2 separate regions of the Homo sapiens genome follow, and region 1 is linked to region 2. Evidence: promoter capture Hi-C in 16 types of primary human blood cells and fetal thymus (Javierre and others, 2016). All regions are on one chromosome and are shown on one strand. The core of a region is centred on a gene start or on the middle of the fragment in contact, and the rest is flanking DNA. Distances in the headings are between cores, read along the strand shown.

Region 1 (6,926 bases), core at 3,380-5,879, 150 kb before region 2:
TGGTGGAGGTTAGACTCTGTCTGCCTGGATTTGCACTTAACATGCTCCCAGATTCAGACAGTTTCCATCCAGCAGACTCTCCTGAGTACAAAGGGCTTGTTTTTACAAATCCACATCTGAGGCTCACATATGGCCTCCCCTCCAGTCCAGAGGGCATGGAGTTACTACCCTTCTCTCTCTGGGCCAAGGTCAGTGTTCTCCAGGCCAGGTAGCTGATATAGCTCCTCTTCCCCAAAGCCTAGCAATGTGCCTCGGACATTGGAGGTGCTCAGCATATGTTTTCTGATACTGACTTACCAGGAGCATGCAAAACAGCATGCCAGTAACACTGCTATTTCCCTGGTATGAGCAGACAAGGAGGTTCCCAACCCACGGTGCTTTGGGGGAAGGTGGTTATTACCAGCACCCAAGTCCTTAAATTAGAGTGAATAAATGAACATTTGGCAAGTCCCTCTTGAAAGCTCGCCAGCCCCTGATGTCAGCCACACAAGTCCAATCTGTCCTGAGCCAAGGATACCGATTCAGAGGCATTTGCTGGGCCCACCCACTGGGTGCTCTGTGCCATGCCGGGGGCCTGCTCAGGAGAGATGAGGACTTAATGAAATCGAAGCCACTCGGAAGATCACCTTTTTCTGGTGAACCTTCATGCTGGTGGAACCAGCAGGGCTCAGATGCAATTTAGACAGTCTCCTTTCCCTCATTTCCTATCATATATCTTTCTCCAAAGAACTGGAGCAAGGGGGAAAGCTGGGGTTTTGTGCTTTCTGACTGTTTAATAATCTGGCTCCTGGAACTTTGTAGAAATTCCTTAGAGAAAGGCCTGTTTTGCTCAATGGATGGCAAAGTTCTTTTTTTTTTTTTTTGAGAAAGAGTCTTGCTCTGTCACCCAGGCTGGAGTGCAGTGGCGCGATCTCGGCTCACTGCAACCTCTGCCTCCCGGGTTCAAGTGATTCCCCTGCCTCAGCCTCCCAAGTGGCTGGGATTACAGGCGCCTGCCACCATGCCCGGATAATTTTTGTATTTTTAGTACAGATGGGGTTTCACCATTTTGGCCAGGATTTGGTTAGGATTTTGAACTCCTAACCTCAGGTGATCCACCCACCTTGGCCTCCCAAAGTTCTGGGATTATAGGCATGAGCTACCACGCCCAGTCCCTTTTTTTTTGTTTGTTTGTTTTTTGTTTTTTTTTTTTTTGTTTGAGACAGGGTCTCTATCTGTAACCCAGGCTGGAGTACAGCAGCATGATCTCGGCTCACTGCAGCCTCGACCCCCTGGGCTCAAGCGATTCTTGTGCCTCAGCCTCCCAAGTAGTTGGAACAGAGGCACGTACTACCATGCCCAGCTAATTTTTTTTTTTTGAAACAGAGTCTCTCTCTGTCACCCAGACTGTAGTGCAGTGGCGCGATCTCAGCTCACTGTAACCTCCACCTCCCGGGTTCAAGCAATTCTCTGCCTCAGCCTCCTGAGTAGCTGGGATTACAGGCGCCCGCCACCACACCCAGCTAATTTTTGTGCTTTTAGTAGAGATGGGGTTTCACCATCTTGGCCAGGCTGGTCTTGAACTCCGGACCTCGTGATTCACCCGCCTCGGCCTCCCAAACTGGCCCAGCTAATTTTTGTATTTTTTGTAGAGACAGAGTTTTGCCATGTTGCCCAGGCTGGTGTTGAACTCCTGGGATTGAGCAATTGGCCCCGCCTCGCCCTCCCAAAGGCCTGAGCCACCATGCTCCACCCACAATTCTTTTCCTTCCTGGTTGAGGGATTGTACTCCTCACCTTTCAATTTGGACCGAACCTTGTTGGCCGTCTTCTTGATGTCTGCAGTGAGATCCTCCAGCTCCTGTTTGGTCTCTGAGGGGAGGGCGAGGGCAAGTGAGATGTCTGGGTGGGAACCCCAGGCCCCTTCTCCTCCCACCCCACAGTCACCGGCAGCCACACTCACTCTCATCTGGGTTGGGTGCGGCCAGGATGGCGCTATGCTGTTTTTTCACCTGCTCCACATCCTCCGACAGTTTCTCAATGCAGCCCCGGATCTCTTCCACCTGGAGCAGAAAATCGGCTATACCCAGCCAAGCTGTCAGGCCAAACAACGGGTTCCAGGGGAACCAGCCAGGGTTCAGGGGAATGGACCAGCCCCAGAACGGCTGATAAAAGGCCAGGGAGGGTGCAGGAGCAGGGAAGTGGGGGACAGGGAAAAGGAAGTTGTCGGTGGCTAGGGGCTGGGTGCCGGGGCTGCGGCTGGGCGGTGGGACTAGGGGCTGGGGCTGGGTGCTGGGGCTGGGGCTGGGTGCCGGGGCTGAGGCTGGGCGGTGGGACTAGGGGCTGGGGCTGGGTGCTGGGGCTGGGGCTGGGGCTGGGGGCCTTGGAGGCCCATTACCTGTTCAAAGAACTCATCCATGAAGTGGTCCCGATCCACGTGGACCACCTCCTCTTCATCATCACTGTCTTTCGCCTGGGGACAAGGAAGGCTGAGTCCATGAGCAGGCCCTACCTGGGTCCCCAAGGCTGGCTCTCCAGCTCTCCCACCCTCTCCCTGCTATGCACACACAGGTGCTCCCAGCTCTAGGCTCAGAGGAGGGGTCCTGGGAGGGGTCCCATGCAGGGTAGATGGCAAAGGCACCAAAAGTGTTTGTCAGCCCAAAGGATTCCTTAGAAGGAATTGGAAAAAGACCCCCTCTCAGGGTGGATGTGGCCTTGGGGGCGCAGAGCCAGCCTTGACCAGCCAATAGGGATGATTTCAATATTTCAACAACGGCTCAACGTCAGGCTTGCAGTAACTGACCCTGGGCTCCATGAAGGGTCCTGGACTAGAGTCCCGGGAGCCTGGATCTCCCTACTGTTCCTGCTCTCCTGCCCAGATCTCACTTTACTCCTTCTCTTCCTCTCCTGCCCCACCTGACCAGACATGTCCCCTGTGCAAGGTCACTTCACTGCCAGCGGCAGGCGCCAAGTTGAGCAAGCAGTGAGGGCTGGATAAGAGATACGGGCAGCACCCCGACCTCCCTCGCGCCCTGTGCCCCCCTCTTCCCGCCCACTCTCCCTCCCCTCCCAGCCGGCTCTCCCTCGCAGTGGATTCACTTGCTTTCATCCAGCCCCTTCCAACTTCACACCCACCTACTCTTGCTGGCTTGGATTTCCCAGTTGCAACCTGCAGCTGCTCAACCCTCCACCCGCAGGGCTCAGAGACACAAAGAGATTTACCCACCCACAGCACCACTGCCACCGACAGACAGACTCGAGACACAGACAGAAGAGCTGACACCCAAGGCACACAGGAATAGGCCCCCCCGACACCCACACGGAGATGCACTGATGCTGGCGTTCACCCGCACGCAGACTCACAGCTGAGCCGCACTGACATGTGTGGACACACTGGCTTTCAGCTGCACCCCTGAGGACATTTGGGAGGGCTCACTGGGCTTGTTCTTCCAGCTTCTCCGAGCCTCATGTCTGCACACACACTCAGAGCTGGACAGGAGAGGCTGTAGGGGAGGTGCCCTGTGCTACACACACCTGAGTCCTTCTCTGCTTGGGACAGAGGTCTGACAGCAAAATCTGAGTCCATCAAGCTTAATGACATCTGGAGCCCTGATCAGCCCCAGTGGAAATGTATACAGAGTTCATTCTGATTTCCAAAAAGAACCCAGCCAGAGCTCAGACAGAATCCAAACCCCAGAGGCTGGGTGAAATCAAGACAGGATCCAAACAGCATCCACCTGGGGGTGTACTCAGTTGGAATCCAAAAAGAAGAGCTTGCCAGGGTCCCAGCGGAACGCAGACAGGGCCTAACAGAAACCAGACAGGCTCAGACTGAACTAGCCGAGGCTCACACGGATCCCAGACAGATCCCAGACAGCTCAGATTGAACCTAGACAGGGCCAGATGGGACCTAGGTGCAGTCCACACAGCCAAAACTCAGGATCAGCAGTGCCCCACAGCCCCAGGAAAAGCCAGCACAGCCTGGGGGGCCTCCAGCTCCACGCTCCTGAGCCACCCCAGCCTCCCTGCTAAGCCCAGCCCAAATGGAACTCCAGGGAGTCTTCACACAGACGCTGGGCCCACACTGTGTCGGAAAATGTGTTCAGCACTTGTGTTGAATTTCCAGACAATCCCAACCATCCGCCTGGAAAGGGAGTTTCCTCTGTCTTGGCTCACAGCTGCCCCCAGAAAGTGGGGCGGCACAGGTGGCATAAGTTGGGGACCCTGAGAGGCTCTGGGATGCTGGGCTCACCTCTGAGGACCCATCGGCCTACCATGATGCTCTTCACTTTCTCTGTCCTCAAAATCCAGCTGTGCTACAAGGCCTCCTTCCCCTAGAGCCAAAAGCCTTCCTCTGCCCTTTCTCTCCCTTCAACCACTCACTCAGCCACCAGCCTCACGCAGGTCATGCGGCCTCTCCCTGGCCCGGGTGCCTGAGGACTTTCCTGTTCTCTGTGTCTCTCCCTTCCCCATGCTAATGTTAGGAAGTCTTTCCTAAAATCTAATTTCAATCTCTCCTGTTGTTCTTGGAGCCACCTCCCTTAGGTTCATCTCTGGAGCACCCTGGGCTACCTATTTGTTTGCCCTCAAGACAGGAAGAATGATAGAAGGCCCAAGTGTGGTTTATTTGGTATAATAAATACAAAGAGAGCTGGGAGCTAATAATCCTCTACCATTTACAAACACTTTTACATCCATAATCCGTTTTGATCCTCAGCACCACCAGCCCTGAGAGAAAAGCTGCATAAACATCATCGTCCCCATTTCACAGATGAGGGAACAGGAAGCCAGGGGGGTAAAAGGAGAGTGACTTGCCCAAGGGCACCCAGGCCACATAGGGCCAGAAAACCATGGGCATCCAGCCCCTCAAAGACCGCTGTTAGGCTCCAGACTGGGCTACCTCCCCCACTGACTTTCCGCTCCCAGTTACTTTCCCTCTCAGTGAGCGCCTGCTAAGTCCCAATCTGGGGAAGGCTCTGTGTCCGGACAACCTAGCAAAACAAGAGCACTTGATGGTATTTTTTGCGTAAGTCTTACATTCTTGTTATCTCATTTAATCTTCATTAGGACTCTGTAAGGACCATTGGCCAACATAATTATACTTATGCAAATATTTAGATGATGTTTTACAATGTGCCAGGCACTGTTCTATGTGCTCCACATATATCTATCCATTTCATTCTTACAACAGTCCCCTTGGAGGTATTATTATAGCCCCCTTTTATAGATGGGGAAACTGAGGCATAGAGCTAAATAACTCAGGCCAGTTGTAGTGGCTCACGCCTGTAATCCCAGCACTTTGGGAGGCTCTGGTGGGAGGATCACTTGAACCCAGGAGTTCAAGACCAGCCTGGGCAACATAGCAAGATCATGTCTCTACAAAAAATACAAAAATTAGCTGGGCATGGTGGTGCGCACCTGTAGTCTCAGCTACTTGGGAGGGTGAGGTAGGAGGATCCCCGGAGCTCAGGAGGTCAAGAGACTGCAGTGAGCTGTGATTGTGCCACTGCACTCCAGCCTGGGTGACAGAGCAAGACCCCGTTTCTTAAAAAAAAAAAAAAAAGAACTTGCCCCAGGTCAGCTGTTAGAAGACCATTTGGCTCTACCCCTGAGCCTAGTCTCTGCATTTGCTGAGTGGTAACAATGCCTACCACCGGCTGATTCCATGTTACAGACAAGGAAACAGGCTCAGAGAGGTTGCCTGACCTGCCTAAAGCTTCACAGCAAATGAGGCCAGAGGTAGGACCTGAACCCAGGACTGTCTGGCACTAAATGTCAGGCTCTCTCCCTTCTGTCCTGCTGACAGATGGCAGTCCCTCCTGGTCCTAAAAAGCCCACTCTGCCATGTCCTCAGGACTGCTGAACTCCTGCAGCCAGGACAGAAAATCAGTAGGAGGGGCCCAGGGCTGCAGGAAGAGCTTGGACAGGAGGCCATCCCTCCCAGCCTCCGTCTGTCTTGCTGTGTGACCCCAGGCAAACTTAGACTCCTCCCTGGGCCCCAGTTCCCTCATCACTGAAATGAGCAGACTGGTGCAAGTGCCCACCCTGCTCTGAAGGGCCCTCCGTGCTCTGAGTGATGCATATTTAGTAATGAGTACAGCATCCATTTCTGGAAGAAGTTAGGCCAGCCAAAAAGAAAGCAGGCTGTGGGCAAACCAGACTACCTAGGAAAAGATGATCAAATGTGCCCCAGTCTACTTTATGGTGGCCTCAGGTTACAGGTGAACGATTCAAGCCTCAGTTGCCTCATGTGCAAATCGAGGATGTAACATATATGTGCTGATTACCACGAGTTGGGTCCTATTACAAGTGCTTTGCATTTCTTTTTTTTTCTTTTTCCTTTTTTTTTTTTTTTTTTTGAGAGATGGGATCTCACTATATTGCCCAGGCTGGTCTCGAACTCCTGGGCTCAAGAGATCCTCTCTCCTTGGCCTCCCAAAGCGCTGGGATGACAGGTGTGAGCCACTGCACCCAGCCTGCATCTCTTGTTTAATCCTCACGACCACTCCATGAGGTCATATTCTTATTCTCACTGGACAGATGAGGAGGTGGAGGCGCAGAGAGATTGGGTAACTTGCCCAAGATCACACAGCTGATGGGATGACTCAAACTCAGGCACTCTGCTCTACAGCGCACAGCTCCTTGAGCACTTGAGAGGGATTGAATGAGAGAGTGCAGTGCCCCTGAGCCCCTTCCAGAAGCACCTGGGGACTGCGCACATCAGATCCAAGCCTCCAGCTGCAGCCTGACCTCCTCAGGGGCCCCCTAAGTCCAGGTCTTCCACACCAGAGCCACCACGGGCCTTGTGTGTATGTCGATGTGGAGCGACGGCAAGGACAGATACAGAAGCGGAAGGAGGAGAGTGACAGTGAGAGCCAGCAAGTCAGTGACCAGAGAGACAGATGGTGAGACGGTGACAAAAACACAGAGGCGGCAAGAGACTGGAAT
Region 2 (5,960 bases), core at 215-2,714:
CGTCCAGGGGCCCGTCCTGGGAGTGCACGCCCAGCAGTACCGACCACTCGGCCGCGGGCTCCAGCGTCCCATTCCTGCGCTCGACCGGGGCAGTAGGAGGTTAGGTTGACCCTATGGAGGGGGCAGACCCTCGTTGGGGGCAGGGGCTCAGAGCCAGAGGGGCAGGTGCTATCCGATCCAGATTTGGTGCTGATACTCCTCAAAGGGGAAGAGCAAATCCGATTTGGAGCTGGTGGTGGGGGGGTCATTGGAAAGATGGGATTCAGACCCGGATATTGAGTGGAGTGGTGGGACCAGTCCGGCAGCCTTGCCCCACTCGGAACCATGATGCCTCGAATAGCACCTCGCTTTGGGGACAGCTTGGCTCCAAATTATCCTTGAGGACGGAAGTGGGGCGGGAGGAGGGGACCAACTGCGGGGGCGGGGGCCAGCTTTTGGCGGAGAGGGGCCAGGACCAGGGCGAATACTCACGTCATGAAACAGTGAGCAGCGGAGAGGACCCAGGAGGGGGCGATGAGGGAGCCCCCGCAGATGTGGCCACCTCCATGGTGCAGGCTCACTTGCCAAGGCCAGGTGCCCGGCTGCGCGTTTGAGCCCCCCACGATGCGGGCCGAGGGCTCAGGGCGCCCGCAGTCTGCAACGGGGAGCCGTGGAAGCCAAAGCTCCCCTCGGGTTCCCCACTCCAGAAGCCCAGGTAACTCAGGACGAAGGCCCGTCCTCCACCCACTTCAGTTTGCCCCTCTGAACAAAGAACATAGAGGACCCAGGCTTGTCTACATTTCTGGTCTTTTCCACCTCCCTCATGGCCTGACCAGCCTTAGCCTCCTTTAAGGTCTGAGGGTGCCAAGGCCTCTTCCTTACCCAGATCTTCAGGTTCTTCCTGGGTAGGACTGAGAGCTGGGAGCCAGAGGGGAAAGAGAGGAGGACACTTGTGACTTCCAGGCCTGCACCGCCCAGCCCCACTTCCTGCTCTCCAACCCCCGACCCTATCTTCCCACTTCCCTGTCCGTTCAGCAACCCCTGCCAGCACCCATGCCAGTCCTCTGGTCTTTTCTGCCTCTGCACGTGACTTTCCCCCAGTCCGGCTACCTTACCTGAGTCCTGGAAGGCTCCTGGGATGGGACTGATGACTGGAAAGACAGAGGTAGGCAGGAAGAGGCTGGCGACTCGCACTCAGTATGTGCCCTCCCTGACTCCCTCCCCCAGCCTCCTAGCCTCCGTCTCCCCAGGGCACCCAGGCCTCCCTCTCCCTCCTCTGATACATCCTCGCCTTCTGCTGCCTCACTTCCTTCTCTCTGACTTCCTGCTCCCCACACAGAAACCAGGAATCCTGCTCTCCAGCCCCCCAGATGCCAGGACCCAGGCCCTTTGCAGCCACTCTTGTCCCCTGAGGTTACCAAGCATCACAAGGGGGAGGAGCAGGTGCCGGGCCATGGCGCTAGAGTCAGCGGAGGCAGAGCCAAGTGAAGGTCTGCTCCCTGCAGGGCTCTGTCACTGCCCAGGCAGCCCGTGACTCCTGATGGTCCCAGGGGCAGCCCCACCCTCCCTGGCTGGAGCCCATCTCTGGGAATCTGAGAGGATCTGGGGCTGGAAGGGGGAAGCTGGGGAGCCTGAAGGCCCCACCCAGAGCCCTGCGCACATCTCATGTCTCTGGAGGCCCAGGGTGGGGGTGGAGGACAGGTGTCCTAGCTCCTGGACACCTGTTGGGTGGGAGAGGGAGGGATGAAAAACACTGCAGGCAAAGGTCAAAGAGGAGGACAGTGTTCTGTGTCCTTGGTGAGCAGTGGCCCTTAGGACAGGGGAAGTGGCCCCTCACGGGCATGACTCATCGGAGACCTCACCTCTGTTTGGGGTGCGGCTGCCCCAGTGGCTTGGCCTTTTCTTCTCACACAGCTCTGGTTACTGGAGCTGCTGGCCAGGTCTGGGACAGGAGCCCTAGGGAATTCAATCCCATCCCAACAAAAGGATCACAGATTCCAGCAGGTTGGGCAGGGCATAGGGACCCTGGGAGGGGGCTGGGCAGGCTGGCGAGGCTGAAAAAGCCTCCACCCTGCTCTGTGTTCCAGTGACAATGCTCTTAGCTGCCCTGTCACTTACTCTGTGTGACTTTGGGAAAGTAACCCAACCTCTTGGTGTGTATCAGTAAGAGCCAGTTTAAGGGACATATGACTTGGCCGAGCACGGTGGCTCACTCCTGTGATCCTAACACTCTGGGAGACTGAGGTGGGAGGATTGCTTGAGGCTAGGAGTTCAAGACCAGCCTGGTCAACATAGCAAGACCCCATCTCTACAAAAAATTAAAAAATACAAAAATTATGAACTGCAGGGCGTGGTGGTGCACGTCTGTATCCCAGCTACTCGGGAGATGAGGTGGGAGGATTGCTTGAGCCTGGGAGGTCGAGGTTGCAGTGAGCTATGATTGTGCCACTGCACTCCAGCCTGGGTGACAAAGCGAGACCCTGTCTCAACAACAACAACAAAAAGAAAAAAAAAAAGAAGAATAAGAAGAAGAAAGAAACATATGGCTCTTCAAAGAGGAGTTGAAGAGAGTTTAAGGAAGAAACTATTTATAGAAGTGTAGGCAGGGTCAAAGGAAACCAAAGAGGCTGGGTGGCTCACGGCTGTAATCCCAGCACTTTGGTAGGCCGAGGCGGGCAGATCACCTGAGGTCAGGAGTTCAAGACCAGCCTGGCTAACTTGGAGAAGCCCCATCTATACTAAAAATACAAAAATTAGCCGAGTGTGGTGGAACTCACCTGTAATCCCACCTATTAGGGAGGCTGAGGCAGATAAAAATGCTTGAACCCAGGACGTGGAGGTTGCAGTGAGCCAAGATAGCGCCGTTGCACTCTAGCCTGGGTGACAAGAGCGAACTCCGTCTCACAAAAAAAAAAAAAAAAAGGAAACCAAAGAGGGATGGTAACGCATCCTGGGGCCAGCAATAATAGAGAGCCCTTGCTACCTGCTGGCCTGAAGAGGCAGAGAGGGGGCAGTTACTGGAACCCAGCAAGAGCTGCAGCTATGGAAGAGATAGCTGTTAGGAGCCGTGGCCTTCAATAGAGAAATGCAGCCTTTACCAGCAGAGAGGGAGTGGGGAAAGAAAAATCCCCATCTCACTCTCATCTCATCCTCTCTATTTTTAATTAAACCAATTAAAAAATTTTAGAGACACGGTCTCACTCTGTCACCCAGGCTGGAGTGCAGTGCTGTGATTATAGCTCACTGTAACCTCGAATTCCTGGGCTTAAGCGATCCTCTGGCCTCAGCCTCCTGAGAAGCTGGGACTACAGGCACGCACCACCATACCCAGCTAATGTTTTTTATTTTTGTAGAGATGGGGTCTTATTATGTTGCCCAGGCTGGTCTCAAACTCCTGTCTCAAGCGATCTTGCTGCCTCAGTCTTCCAAAAGTGCTGGGATCCTCCCATCCTCTGATCACCCCCTGGCTCTTTTCATTGAAACCTCCCAGAGGCCAGAGTTCAAGGGAGACCATTATATGGTCCATAAAGGTCACTCTTAGGGAACAAATCAGGGTGGACAGCAGAAATGCAGGGTCAACCCAGGAATATTTACACATGTGTATCTATCTTCTTACTGATAATATCAATTAATAATAATATTGGTCTATGAGTCTAGTTGCCCTAGAAAACAGGCCTAGGCAAAGCCTGCATGCTTGTGCTTAATTGGGAGGTGCAATCCCAGGGTGGCAAGATTGAGGGAAAATGAGAAGTGAGCAGGAAGAGGGAAAATGCAAATTCAGCCACCCAGCAACGGACTGGGCTCAATTGATAAACCTGCTAGCCTTAGCCTGTCCACAGGAAACGATGGAGGTAAATTGAGTCTTAACTTCAGATTTCTTAACAATGAGAGCCTCCTCAGGCATTTGTTTAACTTGCTGCTTGGGTAGCTATTTGCCCTTCAAAGGATAAATAACCAATCATTTAACCAAAACTCAGAAAAATGAGGTAATGGGCAAAGGTAGGAAAGAAGAGAGTGCAAGTGTCATTGACGCAAAACATGCACGCCCTGGAGACCCTCACCGATACATTGCTTGCTCCAATTTAGTGGTTAATAAACATTTTGGAGCTGGGCGCGGTGGCTCATGCTGGTAATCCCAGCACTTTGGGAGGCCGAGGCAGGTGGATCATGAGGTCAGGAGTTCAAGACCAGCAGCCTGGCCAACATGGTAAAACCCTATCTCTACTCAAAATTAAAAAATTAGCTGGGCATGGTGGCATGTGCCTGTAATCCCAGCTACTCAGGAGGCTGAGACAGGAGAATGGCTTGAACCCAGGAGGCGGAGGTTGTGCTCAGCTGAAATCGCACCACTGCACTCCAGGCTGGGTGATAGAGTGAGACTCTGTCTCGAAATAAATAAATAAATAAATAAAATTTTGGGGCCAGGTGCAGTGGCTCAAGCCTGTACTAGTGCTTTGGGAGGCCAAGATGGGAGGATTGCTGGAGGCCAGGAGTTCTAGACCAACCTGGGCAGCATAACGCGATCCTGTGTGTGGTGGTGTGCACCTGTAGTCCCAGCTGCCCAGGGGTTTCTCCATGTTGGTCAGGCTGGTCTCAAACTCCTGACCTCAGGTGATCCACCTGCCTCGGCCTCCCAAAGTGCTGGGATTACAGGCATGAGCCACCGTGCCCAGCCAAGACAATGATTCTTAACCCTTTCCCCAACCCAGCAGACATGAGGAGTAGGACTTGCTCTGCTAAATAGCACAGACGTTGGCCAGGCGCGGTGGCTCACGCCTGTAATCCTAGCAGTTTGGGAGGCCGAGGCAGGTGTATCACCTCAGGTGAGGAGTTCGAGACCAGCCTGGCCAACATGGTGAAATCCCGTCTCTACTAAAAATACAAAAAATTAGCCGGGTGTGGTGGTGGATGCCTGTAATCCCAGCCACTTGGGAGGCTGAGGCAGGAGAATCGCTTGAACCCGGGAGGCAGAGGTTGCAGTGAGCTGAGATTGCACCATTACACTCCAGCCTGGGCAACAAGAGCAAAACTCCATCTCAAAAATAAATAGATAAATAAATAAATAAGTATAAAAAAATAAATAGCACAGAGGCTCGCCAAAGCAATGGATCTTATGGGAGGAAGGAGAACATTTTCTTGTAGGGAGACAGATTGGAATTTCTGGAGGAGCAAGTGCAGTTTGCAAAAGCTGCCCAGGTGATTCTTATGGTTTCACCACTCTAAGATGCCCTTGATTGCAACTAGCAGCCAAGGTAAGGAGGGAAGCTCAAGCAGGAGTCTCTCTCTTCCAGGTTCAAGGACAGAAAATAAATTTCTCCTTGGAGGAGCCAGGTGTGCCGGTGCATGCCTGTAGTCCCTGCTACTCTGGAGGCTGAGGTGGGGGGATCCCTTGGGCCCAGGAGTTCGAGTCCATTCTGGTTGGGAGATCATGTCTCTTTACTTGGGTATAATAAAATCTTTCTTAACAACATCATGTGAAAAACAGCAAATAGTTTCATGAGGTTTTTTTTTTTTTTTTTTTTTTTTTTTTGAGATGATGTTTCGCTCTTTTTGCCCAGGTTGGAGTGCAATGGCATGATCACGGCTCACTGCAACCTCCACCTCCCAGGTTTAAGTGATTCTCCTGCCTCAGCCTCCCGGGTAGCTGGGATTACAGGAGCCCACCACCATGCCCTGCTAATTTTGTATTTTTAGTGGAGACGGGTTTCCACCATGTTGGCCAGGCTGGTCTCAAATTCCTGACCTAAGGTGATCTGCGTGCCTTGGCCTCACAAAGTGCTGGGATTACAAGCATGAACCACCATGCCCAGCCTTTTTTTTTTTTTAGAGATGGAGACTCACTCTGTCACCCAGGCTGGAGTGCAGTGGCATGGTCATAGCTCACTGCAGCCTCGAGCTCCTGGGCTCAATCGATTCTCCCATGTCAGTCTCCTGAGTAGCTGGGACTCCAGGCATGTGTCACCATGCCTAAGGTTGATTTT

Evidence for each region. Contacts are between HindIII fragments. The CHiCAGO score rates a contact against its expected background, and 5 or more counts as called.
Region 1: a fragment that was not itself captured here is called in contact with the fragment with the promoter of PRSS36 in region 2 in 15 of 17 cell types (monocytes, neutrophils, M0 macrophages and 12 more); the score reaches 11.7 in monocytes.

Annotation. Positions count from the first base shown.
Region 1 is chr16:30,999,153-31,006,078 of GRCh38, forward strand. It overlaps STX1B (syntaxin 1B), which reads right to left. Exons shown (of 10, transcript NM_052874.5): 2 at 2,377-2,451; 3 at 1,942-2,041; 4 at 1,776-1,850. Among named protein-coding and RNA genes, the nearest start is that of STX1B, 8.0 kb to the right of the region's middle. RefSeq lists enhancers at 1,335-1,835, 1,836-2,336. The HindIII fragment of the contact is 2,126 bases long and covers 3,567-5,692 here.
Region 2 is chr16:31,148,602-31,154,561 of GRCh38, forward strand. PRSS36 (serine protease 36) reads right to left here and starts at 1,465. Exons shown (of 15, transcript NM_173502.5): 1 at 1,398-1,465; 2 at 1,095-1,130; 3 at 862-897; 4 at 472-634; 5 at 1-74. The coding sequence starts at 1,434. RefSeq lists enhancers at 99-636, 637-1,172, 1,173-1,709. The HindIII fragment of the contact is 9,446 bases long and covers 1-5,960 here.